Linked DNA regions of Homo sapiens: all the other regions are linked to region 2. Evidence: promoter capture Hi-C in 16 types of primary human blood cells and fetal thymus (Javierre and others, 2016). All regions are on one chromosome and are shown on one strand. Each heading gives the region's core, a stretch centred on a gene start or on the middle of the fragment in contact. The rest is flanking DNA. Distances are from core to core; before and after follow the strand shown. Region 1 holds the start of LINC02696 (long intergenic non-protein coding RNA 2696). Region 2 holds the start of CD82 (CD82 molecule). Region 3 has its middle 18 kb from the start of LINC02696.

Region 1 (4,723 bases), core at 290-2,789, 790 kb before region 2:
TAGACCTCTGAATCAGACTCCTTAATGCTGAAGCCTAAACATCTCTACCAAGAAAAGTGTTCTCTAAGACTCAAGTACAGAGCATGTGCTGAGACAAGATTCTTCAAGCTGGTATGTGTGTATGTGCGGGCACACGCATGCTTGTACAAGTCTTAAGATGTCTAGGACATATCTGTAGAGTTGTTCTATATCATTTCCATGTTCCTTCCCAGACCCTCTGCCCTCCATCCCAAATGCTTTTCTTGCCCCTCTCCACTGTGTCTTTGCCCACATCTTGTGCTTCAGGCTCCACTCTATGTAGCATTTGACCCCCTGGCCTTTACCAGCCTTCCTGTTTCAATGTACCTGAGATGAGATGGCAGCAGCTTTGGGGAAGCAGAATCCATTCGTACATTCATTCATTCATTCATTCATATGTCACAGACTATTTGAAGTTCTGGGGATACAGTCATACAATATAGACAAGATGTTTATTTTCAGGGAGCTTACATATTAATGGGAGGAGACAGTCAATAAACAAAGGAAGATACAAGAAAATAGCAGTAATGATGAGTGTTGTGGTGAAACTGAATCAGGATGACGTGACAGAGAGTAACAAGGGGGTACATGAGTTTGGGTGGTCAAGGGAGGACTTATTTGAAGAGGTCACATTGAAATTCAGCTCTAAACAAGAGAGGGCCAGCTCTGCAATAACTGGGTGAAGAGGGTTCCAGCAAAGGGAACAGCTAGTGCAAGGACCCTAAGGCAGGATAAAACTTGGCAGGTTGAAGAAAGAAAGATAGTATGTCTGGATTATAGTGAGTGAAGGGGTAGGGAGTGGTACCAGATTGAGTCCAGATCACATAGGGCACAGTAATTAGTGGGGGAAGACAATAATTCTAAACACAAAAGTGATAGAATCTAACTTACATTTTAAACAAATATTTTGGCTGCTACTGTGTGGTGAATGGACTGGGATGGTGAAAATGGGTCAGAAGATTAGAAGCAGGGAAGTTAAATGAAAAGGATCTTGCAGTTAACCAGGTAAAGGATGATGATGCCTGGGTTAGGGTGGTGGAGATAAGAACAGTGAATGGATTTAGGATATATTTTAGAATAAAAGCGGATCGAATTTGTTGATGGGTGAGCTGTGGGGAATGAAAGAGGGAATCAAGATTGTTCCCAGGTTTTTGCTTTGAGTGCACTAATGATGGCACCATTAGTTGACATAAGGAGCCCTGGGAGAGGAAGAGATTGGGGGCAGGAAAGGAAGAGTTTGACTTAGACATGTTAATTTGAGATATTTATTAATGAACCCACTGAAGCCCCCATCTCATACTTTATATCTATCACTATACCAAGAACTATGAGATCCAAGACCTTGCCTTCCTTTTCAATTCCTTGTTAAGCAGGAATAAAGTGAAAAATTACTGAATAAAATATTCAGTTTTTTTGCAAAACACTCTTACGTTCAGAGGTTTGGTAGCAGAGCCATATCTTCCCAGGCAGGCATAAGTAGCCAATCAATCTCCATGTCATACCAAGCAACGGTCCAAGGGGCAAACTAATTAAAAATTTAATCCCATGATTTTCATCTTAATCTCTTTTTCCCATTAGCTTTGATCAATGCCTACAACTACAATTTAACCAAACTTTTCATTTAGATAAATGACTCAGTGGGGTACCTATTTAGTCCGTTTGTTATGAACCAATGGATAACTAAAATGTATATGCTAATTACTAAAGACCACACACTAATTTTCAAAGCATTTTATTAGCACAAAAGCTGTGTTCCTGTTATCAAATGAAATGCGCTTCCTATGTTACACTCAGTAGTTGTTCAAACCAGTTTCTCTTGACTTCAGTAGCCAAATTGCAGCATGCTGTGTAGGTACACAGTGCACTTGAGAAATGTCTGCACATCCCAACCCTGCACTATATCACAAGCAGTAGTGAAAGGTGTAGCAAATAAGAAGATTCCATGAACTTCTCAGCTACCTGAGACTTCTGCTGCACCCTGAAAAAAAAAATCAGGCTAGAAACCACATAAAACAACTAAACCAAACTGAATGCAGGGGCTGCTATGAGGAAGAATGAACTTTGCAGCCTGTTCCAAATGCTAAGGTGAAGGAGGTCCTTCCTGGCTCTGCTCACTAGGTGTGCAAGTCAGGAGATATTCATTTCGTGATCATCCTTTCCTATCACCTGTGGTGAAATTTCTACTGCTTTCAAGTCTTCCAGCCCCTATTTGAATGCCAAAATTCTTAAGTTCCTTCAAGTAAAAGAGATCTTCATTTTAAAAATAAAAGTCAATGGCTCTGGTCTCCTGTAGCCTTTTCAGCCCCTGTAACAGTGCTTTCTCACTTAGATTTTCACTGTCACTTCAATAAAGGGGTGAGAAGAGAGAACTGGCCTGCGATCAATGAAAACTATTCAGTAAAAACTCTTCATGCCAGACATGGCCCCAGAAACAGGAGGAAAGTTTACCAGACAGCAGGAGTGGGTGGTGGCTGGGTCCAGTGGAATGGGTAAACCTAAAAGGGGACGAAAATGGTTTTCAGGCTGCTGTGGCCCTCTCTACACACAAATTTTGTGGCCATGAAGTCCTGGCTACTAAGCATCATTGTCTTTGCGCAACCGCTGCACCTGCCACTTCCCTCAACCCATTAATAATCGGGTTCCTGGGAGGATTTTCATCCCCAATTTACTGGACATGCCTCCGAGCCACCTCCCCGCTCCGGCCCTCCCTCTCGTTGGTCGCCTTCAGACTCCCCCACACGCGGGACGGCCCCTCCCCCCACCCTCCTCACCGGCTAGCCGCGGCCAGCAGAGCCTTCGAGCGGCTCTGTCAGGCTGCCCTGGAGCGTAAGGAAGAAGAAGGCGCGAAGGAAGAAGACTTCCTCATATTCTTGGCTTCCAAGGGGCGCTAGGGCAACAGAGGGGGAAATGACGTAGCTTCCATCCCGGAAGCGAAAATTGGGCGCGGGTCCAGGAAGCCGCCATGTTGTGTGTGGCGGATGAGAATTTCAGCGCTCAGCATCTGGGTACCAGCAGAGAGGCCCCACAGAGAGGCTAGACTAACCGTCTCCGCCTCCTCTCCTTTCTCTGCTCCTCCCCTCCTCCCATCCCCCCTCCCTCTCCTTTCTCAGTGTACTAAATGAGTGCTTCAGAGCCCAGTGAATAGATGGACAAACATTTAAATTTCCTAGCCGGAAACACTGAAAAGATGAACTGTCAAGAGGCGTTTGAACCAGAGGGACTCCATCTTGAATAGGGGCTGCATAAAAGAAGGTGGAGACCTGCTGGGATGCATTCCCAGGAGGTTAGGCATTCTAAGTCACAGGATGAGACAGGGAGGTCAGCACAAGATACAGGTCACAAAGACCCTGCTGGTAAAACAGGATACTTAAAGAAGCCGGCCAAAATCCACCAAAACCAAGATTGGCAATGAAAGTGAACTCTGGTTGTCCCCACTGCTCATCATATGCTAATTATAATACATTAGCTTGCTGAAAGACTCTCCCACCAGCACCATGAGCATTTACAAATGCCATGGCGATGTTAGGAAGTTACTCTATATGATCTGAAGGCGAGGGTGGAACCCTCAGTTCTGGGAATTGCCACTCCTTTCCCCAGAATACTCTTGACTAATCTACCCCTTGTTTAGTGTATAATCAATAAATAACGTATACACAGTTGAACAGCCCATGCCGCTGTTCTGCCTATGGTGTAGCCAATCGTTTATTCCTTTACTTTTTTAATAAACTTGCTTTCACTTTACTCTTTGAACTTGCCCCAAATTCTTCGTTGCTTAAAGTCTAAGAATCCTCTCTTGGGGTCTGGATGGGGACCCCTTTTCATTAACATAACCACTTTACAATAGTTGAGGGTTTCAAGCACCAGGCTGGTGAGTACAGAGTACATGGCCCTGCTTTTCTTGACTTTGGTTACTTGGACTCAGGCCACAGCTGAAGAATACAGGAGGGAGGGAGGGAGAGAGAGAGATCATTGGGAAGCAGGTGGCGGCAGTGGTGGTGGTGGATTGGGTGTGTGAAATTTGCAGAGTTGGGGTGACTGCCAGGCTTCTGGGCTGATAGCTGGGAGAATGTTGGGCCATCACATACTAAAAGGGAACCACAGGAGAAGAAGCTGATGTGTGGGAAGTTTGGTTTTACATATATTAAGCCTTGAAGGTCTTCTAGGGGAGAAACTCAACAGGCCAATGGATGTGCCTGGTTTGATTTTTTAGATGACAGGCCTGAGCTAGAAATCTGTGCCTTAGATTCTTGTATATGAATGGTGCTAGAGCAGGAGCTTAGAAGAAATTGCCTGGTGGAGAGAATACCCTTTGGGAAAGAGGCGCAGGACAGAGTGTCAAGAGCTCTTCTACTAAAGAAAGGGAAGATGAGCAGGCAGCCCTAGGAGAGGAACCAGGGAAATGCGGCATTGCAGGGAGCAAGGGAAGAGCACTTCAGGAAGAGTAATTAGGTCAGTTTTGCTGATAAATTAGTGAGATGACTGAGCAGACTTTGTTGTTACCTGGAGCAGATTCCTTGGAATGGCTGGAGAAGGTCAGCTTGTGGTGAGTTGAGGAATAAGTGAGGGTGATGGTGAGAAAATGGAGATAAATGAACATAGGCAAATCTTCCAAGAAGTTGTCTGTGAAGAAATGAGAGTGATTCTGAAAGGAAAATGATGATTTTTAATTATTATTTTTTAAGATTGGAGAAACATAAGCTTGTTT
Region 2 (4,466 bases), core at 1,619-4,118:
CCCGCCCCCGACCCCCAAACTTACTGCTGGCTGGCACAGGCTCCCACCTTTCGGCCCAGATGCCTCCCCTTCATGGGCAAACCCCTCTGTAGCATTCATCACCCTCCCAGCAACCCCGCCACTCACCCAATCCAGCCACCTTCCTGAGACCCTGCTATGTACCAGACAGGATAGGGAGGAGAAAGAAGTGCAAATGTGCTGGAACAGTCCCCTCCCACCCCTCCAATGGTGCCTTTGCTCTCCCTGTGGCTGGTGTCTCTTCCTTCACTCCCAGTTGCAGACATCCCCAAAGCCACCCAGACCCCTTCTTCCCAGTCACTGCAGCCATTGGTTCATTATCCCTTGACCGCTGGATCCTCCACCCCAGCACATCTGGTACAGACTGACTTTCCTAAAGTGCTGCTCTGTTGTGTCACTCCTCTCCTCAGAAACCTTCAGTGGCTCCCACTTTCTGCAAATCAGATCCAAAGTTCTTATCCTGTCATTCAAGGCCCTCCGTAAGCTGATCCCACCTACTATTCCCACTGCATATCCCCACACGTTCCCAAACTTCAGCCAGAATGAGCAACCTAGAGGTTTCTCGAGAATTCTCAGGACAGGTTGACCTCCCTGCCTCTGCCTAGGCATTTTCCTCTCCTCAAGACACTATCTTCATTCTGGCTGCCGAAATCTTCCCAGTCTGTAAGGCCCTGAAGATCCCTCTAATCCTTTTTTCATTTATCTTCCATCAGAGTCCCTGGTATTCTTGTGTAAGCCCCTTCCCGGATGGTAAGCAACCTGAGGGTGCAGGCCTTATGTGGTCGCTTGTCATTCATCGAGCAGGAAGTGGGGGTGGTGGTGGGGAGGGCTTTCCATTAAGGCTCACTAGGTAGGCTCTGTTGAAATGAACGTCTCCTCCTCCCCACCTCAGGCACCACCTACCAGACCCTCTCCCTCCCCACCATACCAAACTCCAATTTATGCCACTTCAGTGCTTGAAGAGACTGTGGTCCCATGTTGATCCAAGCCAAACCAGGACCAGGAGCCCAGAGAGAAAGTCCTATTCAAGTCTCACCCCCTCCAGGAAGCCTCCTTACCCCCACCCCCTGCCCTGGCTTCTCAAGTGTCTCACTCTTCTGAACACCTCCCCCTGCCCTACATACACACACAGTCTCCTGCACACAGCGCAGCCGCCAGTCCGTCTCTGTCCCACAGCACTTTCCAGTTTGTTCCATACTGTACAGCTTATCTCCCAGAAGATGCAGGGAGCCAATATAATGCAGCACCTTCAGCGTCCTTCAGTGTCCAACCCTGCTTAGATATCGGGTGCCCACATTGCCCCTCGCCCCCATCCCAAGCCAAGTGTGCAATGGTATAGCTGGATTCCAGCCACCAGGGCAGAACAGACCCATGAAATCTCATCTGGTTATAAGCCCTGGGTGTGACTGATCCTCTCTACAGGGACATGGTAGGGATGGGGGAGCCCTCATTGTCAGCAACTCAGGCCTGGCTAGTTCACCTCTGTATCCTCTAGCTCTCTCTAGCATATAGTAGGTGCTCAGTAAACATTTTTAGACTTATTTAACTCAACACTTACCAACCTCAAGCAACATTACAGAAAACTCAGCCACTCTTTGTTCCAGATGACACAGTCCTCATCCCTCAAATAGAGTGATGTTGGTGGCAGGTGGCAATTTCTGGCTTTCACAAGGTCAGGAGGGGCTGTAGCCAACCCCATCTCTCCAAGAAAAAAAAAAGGCTCATTCCCCATAGGAAGCAAGCCCATCACCTGCCCACCCGCATCAAAGCAGCTGTCACAGAGGGAGGTCTCACTGGTTTCCTGGCACCTTGCTAAGTAGTGTATACACATTATTCTATTTAGTGCTTGCTCCTGCTATTGGATATTGTCATTATCCCCATTTTACAGGTGAGGAAACTGAAGTTTGGAGGGGGAATGGAATCCAAATCAGTTTGATCCCAAAGCCCAAGCCTTGACCACAGAACTATGCTGCCCCGCTACTGGGGCCCAGCACAGAGCACCCACCACCTCCAGGAACAGAACCCGTCAGCCAAGAAATTAACCCCGGGTATGCTTCAAGGGCCCCTGGGGCCCTGGGCTTGACCCTGGGCCCAAGGATTGGTGGGGTTTTCCCTTCTCTTCCCCACTCACCAGTGTAAGAACTGTTCCCCAGTTTCCAACCTCCTGCTCAGGCCAGCTCACCTGGAAAAGCCCCACTGAGTTTCCAACTTGAAGTCTTAGGGGGTCCGGCTCAGTTGAACTGTTAGAATTGGTGGGAAGCAGGTGAGGCGGGAAATGGAACCTCCCTGCTTTGGCCTCCTCTTCCCCAGGGTTGGTGGGTTCGAGCCCCAACCGAGGAAACAGTGCACTCTTTAAAGCAATTCGCTTCTCTCAGTCCCATTTTGCAGGGAGAGAAACTGCAGAGGGCAACGCGATGGGAACACCTGTGGCGACCTGCAGCCTGCTCTCACCTGCCAGCTCTCACCTTCCGGCGTTTTAAGTGAGAAAGGGCAACGGGAGCGTGGAATTCACCTGGTTCACTTCCTCCTGCTGGAACCCGGGAGGTCCAGAGCCAGGTAGAGGGACGGACCCAGGATCACGCAGCTGTGCACGGCCGAGTGTGAGAACTGGGGGTTCAGGACTGGTGGCTAAAGCTCCTTTTCACCCACCAGCTGCCCCGACCTGTCACTAGTTCCGAGGAAAGTTGTCCGAGCCGGACCGCAGAAGCGGGGGCTAAAACTAACTTTGCCTATGGTTGTCCGGCAGGCTACCCCGGCCCGCTGCCCCCTTGCTCACCTGCGGGTTCTGCTTTCTGCTCCGCGCTGCAGGCCCAGCGTCACCCGCTCGTGCCTCAGTCGGCGTCGGACTGCACAGCCCGGGGCTCAGTCACTCCTCGGCCCCCTCCCGGCTGCAGCCGGGGAACGCCGCGGACTCGGCAGGCCCCGCCCCCAGAAGACACGCCCCCTCCGCCGGCCCCGCCCCCGAGCCCTTTGGGAAGGCGGTGCGCTCCCGCCGGCCAGGCCCCGCCCACTATGGCCGTACCCCAACCAGCCTCGCCCCCGGGCCCAGCTGGAGCTGAGGCCCCGCCCCGCTACGGAGTCTCTCCTCTATCCCGGCAGCCCCGCCCCCAGGTTACACTGGGGATTAAGCCCGCCCCGCTCCAGCCCTGTCCACTCACGGCGCTGCCTAACGGTCCCGCCCAGCTCCCGCCTACCTCGTCCTCCCGGTCTCCTCCCGGGCCCTCCCAGCGCCCCCGCCTCCTTCACTTTCTCCTTCGAGCCCACCCCATCCCCCGGCCCTAGTAGGGTGAGGCCACGCCCCTCCCCGCACCAGCCTGGGCTCAGCGCCTTCCTAATCCTGCCCTGCCCTGCCCCTCTCATCTCGGGCGGGTAGCCCTGGGGCCCCCACGCTGGCATTCCAGGGCGGGTGTATCCGGGTGCCGCCGGGGAACGGCGTGGGAGCGGTTTGTGTCCTAAGTCGGGGCCTCTATCAGGAGGCGGCCTGGGCCCAGGAACTTTTTGAAAATACTGACTACCATTGATTGAATCCTTGCCAGGGGCCAGGCTCTATGCCAAGCGCTGAATACAGTTCTAGCCCTTGAATTCCCACAACTCATGGGTACTCTCGTTGCGCCTATTTTACTAATGCGCAGTTTAAGGCTCAGAGAAGGGAAGTCGAGGGCTCTGAATCTCATGGAGGCGGGCGTGAGCGGGATCCAGCCTCAGGTCCTGAGTCACAGGCTTGAGCTGCCCCAGCTTGCCTGGACTGGCCCCTGGGGAAGTAGCCCAGAACAACCAGTGCTGGGGCAGTGCCCAGCAGCTGCCTGAGGTGAGGGAGGAGGTGTGGGTTGATGAGAATAGTGGCAGGAGGGGCTGTGGGCCTAAGCCCTCAAAGCTGGCTTTCTCCCTGAAGAAAAAGTGGCCCAAAATTGAGGTGGGCTGCAAGAGCTCTCTAGGTGGCTGCGGTGCCCACCCTGCGTCCCAGCCCTCTGCCCTCCCAGGCTCCAGAGGACTAGCCTCAGGCAGATTACCTGGTTAATGACCAGGGGCATTCACCTGTGCAGCTGACAAAGCTCTTTCACTTCCATTATCACAATGTCCTCTCACAACACACCGTTGTGGGAGGGTATGATTATGAGCGCTTTGTACGAGTGGAGTAAGGGCGGGAGCTGGATCCCAGCCCAGCACTGTAGTTCTCACAGCGTGGTCCTTGAACCAGGAGCAACATCATCTGGGAACTTGTTAGGAGTGCGTATTTTGAAGCCCCATCCCAACTTACTGAATGGAAAACTGTGGGACAATTGGTTTTAATAAGGCCTCCAGGTGATTCTGAATCACATTCAAGCATGAACCACTGTTGAGCAAACTGTAAAGAAGTCAGGGTGGTCTGAGAATCACACAGACCTAGGTAGCTTCCTGGTTGCGTTTTAAACCCAGGACAAGGCAAGATACTTAACCTCTGGGATGAG
Region 3 (4,633 bases), core at 1,281-3,780, 770 kb before region 2:
TCTGGTCCTATTTTTTTTCTCTTTCCAATAAGTGAAAAGGATGTAAATCTAGAAACCCGTGGGCAGACGTATGCTCTTTTTCTTGTGAAGTGTTCACTCTTTAACTGTAATAGTGTGACAACAAGCGAAGGGAATCAGAGATACATGCTCTGCCTGGTCTCTCCTCTCCTGCCAGTTATTTTTGACGGCTTGGCATCTGATGTGGATCAATTTTTTTCCAACTCGCATATTCTGCCTCCCACAGGGCATGGGTGCACAGGAGGGACATAACCTGCCTGGTCCCTGGATATTAATAAAATGTATTATTGTTATGCATTGAGCACCTACTATGTGCCAGCACTTTGCTAAGTGCTTTCACATTTAGAGGCATTGAAAAGAAGACATGCTAGGTGGTTTTCTTTCCTGCCTGTATTCCCTTGCCATCCCTGGAATAGGTGATTGATAAGCCTGGCCTCTGACATCATATACCCTGGGTTCAAATCCTGTCTCTGCTGCCTATGAGCTATGTGACCTTCGGCCTCCCACCTCATCTTTTGGAATCTCAGTTTCCCTACCTGTAAAATGAGGATTTATAATAGCACTTATTTCCTAGGGCTGTTCTGAGGATTACGTGTGTTAATATTGGTAGGCCACTTTGAACAGCATGTGGCACATGGCAAGGACCCTGTAAGTGCAGATGTTAGTAAACAGTGTAATGGGTGAGCCTGTGCCGATTTGGCCAGAGATGAGTACTACTCCACCCCTCTGCTCCCTGCTCAACCTGCTGGGCACTGGAACATTCTAGTGAGAGAGGATGAGAGTAGGTGAATCTGCTAGCTGAAAAACACACACACACACGCATGTGAAGAGCACACACACAGCACACAGGAAGCACACACAGGGCTTTTATATAGGAAGTGCATTTGGGCTAATGTCTAAGTGTTGCCACTTCTGTAGAACTGGCTCAGTCATTCCAGACAGTATGCAGGGGTTTAAGCTTCCTCAGCCTCTCCTGCCTCTGCATCTCACCACCGCCTAATCAGCCCAGCAGCAGTCCCTTCAATCCTTCCCCTACAATGTATCCAGAATGGTCCACATCTCACCATCTTTACCCTCTAAGTTCGGGCTACCCTCATCACCCGTGTGGCCTCCTAGAGTTACCTTTTCCCTGCTCGCCCATGCTTTTTTGCCCTCTTATAATCAACCATTTTTCTATAATTAAAATGATTTTCTTAAAATGCAAATAACTTCTCTACTTCAATCTTCTAGGGTTTAACAAAACAATCCACAGCTTCCATGCATGCTAAAAGGGTGCTGCGAAATCTGGCCCAGTGACCCATTGAGGTCATCTTTGCTCACTCTCTTTTCACCATTCAATAAACCCGCTGGCCTTCTTTCTTATCTGTGACCAAGGCCAAGCTCATTTCTTTCTCGGGGCTCTTGCTCTTGCTGTTCCATTTGGAGGCATTGACCTGATCCCTCTCCGGGGGATTCTTCTTGGCACTTAGATTGGGGTTCAAATGTCTACCAGGCCTTCCTGGATATCTGACTCAATGCAGCACTACTGCAAGACCATTCTCTGGATGGCTGTGGACCGACCCAGTTCTCCCTCTTTTCTGTCATAGCTCCCAAGAATCGCTGTGTAATGTGCTGGAAATGCAACATCTGGAATAGGGCGGGACTGGTCTGAGCAGGCCAGGCTCTGCTTCAGTCACTATTAGAAACAAGGTGTCCTTCAATGCGTTGACCCAGCAAGTCCTGTACCCCGTGGTCTAAAACCCAGGGCTGGTTGCCTTCAGGGCTCCGCAGCTGTGGTGCAAGTGGGGCATGTGCAGACAAGACTCCATCTGGGCAGCTTTCCTGAGGCTTGGAGACTGATACTCATGAATTCTAGGCTGCTGCTGTCCCTTGCTGACTATCTATAAGTAATAACTTGTGTATTTCCTCATGTAACTTGTGTATTTCAGTGTTCTGTTTCACAGAACTTGGGCAAGTAGTGAACGTGCAACCCAAGATCAAGTGGGTTGAAGTGGTAACTAGCGCACAGTGAGTCTGTTTCATAACTACCCCTTCCCACTGCCCAGCGCTCTGTCACTTTACCCCTTTTTATACTCAATATAAAATTGATACTCAGCATTTTATACTCAATATAAAATACTTTGCTGGAATATTGAATATAAAGTATAGTTTATACTTAATACTCCAGCAAAGCATTCGCTCTATTGAAAATAAATAGGTGGCTGGGCACCACAGCTCACACCTGTAATACCAGCACTTTGGGAGGCCAAGGCTAAAGAATCACTTGAGGCTAGGAGTTTGAGACCAGCCTGGGCAACAGAACAAGACCCCATCTCTACACAATATAAAATAAAATAAGATAAAATAAAATAAAATAAAAGTTATCCAAGTGTGGTGGCACGTACCTACAGGTAGTCCTAGCTGATTGGGAGGCTGAGGGAGGAGGATGGCTTGAGCCCAGGAGTTCAAGGCTATGAGTGAACTATATGATGATGCCATTCCCTGTACTCCAGCCTGGGTGAAGGAGTGAGACCCTGTCTCAAAAAAAAAAAAAAAAAAAAAAAGAAAAGAAAGAAAAGAATTAGGCAATTGACGGCCGTCTGTAATCCCAGCACTTTGGGAGGCCAAGGCGGGCAGATCACGAGGTCAGGAGATCAAGACCATCCTGGCTAACACGGTGAAACCCTGTCTCTACTAAAAAAAATACAAAAAATTAGCCAGGCGTGTTGGCGGGCACCTGTAGTCCCAGCTACTCAGGAGGCTGAGGCAGGAGAATGGCATGAACCCGGGAGGCGGAGCTTGTAGTGAGCCGAGATAGCGCCACTGCACTACAGCCTGGGCGGCAGAGCGAGACTCTGTCTCAAAAAAAAAAAAAAAAAAAAGAAATTAGGCAATTGACTTTTGCATATGATTATCGCCCATCTCCCCAACTGGAAGGCAACTGTCTGTCTGTCCGTACAACCCAGAGAGTGTCTGCCCCCCCCCAGCAAGTGTTCCAACAATATTTGGTGAAGAAATTCTTGAATACATTTAGAAAAAGCCAGGACTTTGTTCTTGAGAAGAAAACATGTTTTTTAAGGTAAAAAAGGTAGTCTGGGGGACTGACAGCATAGATTTTATACCACACCATAGAGTAGGAAAGAATATTCAATAGTAAATGAATAAAGTTCCTACTCAAAAGGAGACAAAAGTTCAGTTTTGGGAGGTGGAAGGAGGATCGAAGGGTTGGAACTAGAACCCACAGATGCCAGGGACCTGTGAGAAAGCCTGGGATGCGGGTGGGTGGGAGACAGTGAAGCAGAGGAGACCTGCGCCTCTCTGCCCAGGAAAAGCTGTGGTGGACACTGTGCCACCACACTGTGCCAGGTGAGGACTCCTGTGATGGACCTGTTAATGAGAGGGCCTCAAACACTCACATCCCCAAATCCTCAAGGAGGGATAGAAATGGCAGAAAGCTGGTGGGTGAACCTGGAGAGGCCTAGCAATGGGACGCAGGGGGTGCAGACGCTTAGGTACCTGATGAGGGAAGACAGAGTGGCAGTGGCTGTGACAGCAGTGAATGCAGATGATATCAGACATCAATACACAGGCCTGGCAAATTACATCAACCTCGGATGCTCCGTAGGAGGGAACTAGATGAGGGGAAGGGGAGTGCCCCTCACACCACCAATGCCTGGAGAGGACAGAGGGGAAGGAGCCTTAATTGACAGAGCTTGAGAGCACCTGACAGTGACAGTTTACCTTGAGTTGGCAGGATTGAGTTTTGCACTCCCAGGGGAGAGTAATGTGCGCGTTCACTTCCTTTTGAAAGAAATTGATGAACTCTAACACCTATGCTTGCTAAATAAGAGCAGATGTACCATCTCTTTGTAGAGCATTCAAATAATACAGAATGGTAGCTAATATATAGTGAGGATTTGCCACGTGCCAGGAACTGATCTAATGCTTTATGTGTGGTTAAGGCCAAGGTCCTTGGTTGCAGGCAACAGAGTCCACATTAGCAAGTTCATGCTGACAGAGATCTATTAAAATGTATTTATTAAATACTTAATGGACTTTTTTGGGGGGACCACAGAATCAAGCTTAAATGGTACTCAGACCAGGACAGACCTGGACAACAGAGTCAGCCAAGCCCTTAAAATGCCCCCACTCTCTGCAGAGCTGTTCAGAGAGCCCTCTGCTGCTTCCACCTGTTAACTGACACTCATGATGTTTGGGACTGAAGTCAAAACTCCTCCCAATTTCCCAGAACACCCAGCACCCCTGCCTCTGTGCCTTCCAGCAGGTCCAGGCTCCCAGCCTTCTTGCACCACTCACTTCCACATGCAAGTCCTGAATGAGTGTAACTGGTTGGTGGAAAGCAGGCCATGTGCCTGCACTCTAGCTGCAAAGGAGTCTCAAATTTGGTTTTCAGTTTTGCAGTTTCTAGAGTGCAGGAAGGTAGTCTAGAAGGAATAGGAATGTGTGCCCAACTGAGTCACACAGGCACTAATTTCTCTTTTACAGATGCAGAAACTAAGGTACAGAGGGTTGCATCTTTTCATTCTCTTTGAATCTTGATTGTTAGGAATGAGCGACCCCACTCTGGTTTAGGGGAACTCGAATTCATTTTCCTATTTTTCCTTAGCACAAAAAA

What was found. The method cuts DNA at HindIII sites, captures the fragments that hold promoters and counts their contacts. A CHiCAGO score of 5 or more calls a contact.
Region 1: a fragment that was not itself captured here is called in contact with the fragment with the promoter of CD82 in region 2 in 3 of 17 cell types (total CD4 T cells, naive CD8 T cells and non-activated CD4 T cells); the score reaches 5.6 in total CD4 T cells.
Region 3: a fragment that was not itself captured here is called in contact with the fragment with the promoter of CD82 in region 2 in 1 of 17 cell types (total B cells); the score reaches 6.9 in total B cells.

Annotation. Positions count from the first base shown.
Region 1 is chr11:45,353,669-45,358,391 of GRCh38, reverse strand. It overlaps LINC02696 (long intergenic non-protein coding RNA 2696), which reads right to left and starts at 3,021. Exons shown (of 2, transcript NR_120558.1): 1 at 2,790-3,021; 2 at 1,735-1,996. The HindIII fragment of the contact is 6,359 bases long and covers 1-4,718 here.
Region 2 is chr11:44,564,065-44,568,530 of GRCh38, reverse strand. It overlaps CD82 (CD82 molecule), which reads right to left and starts at 2,868. Exons shown (of 10, transcript NM_002231.4): 1 at 2,795-2,868. RefSeq lists enhancers at 1,780-1,849, 2,355-2,855 and a silencer at 2,770-3,369. The HindIII fragment of the contact is 9,090 bases long and covers 1-4,466 here.
Region 3 is chr11:45,335,251-45,339,883 of GRCh38, reverse strand. No RefSeq gene overlaps it. Among named protein-coding and RNA genes, the nearest start is that of LINC02696, 18 kb to the left of the region's middle. The HindIII fragment of the contact is 3,103 bases long and covers 979-4,081 here.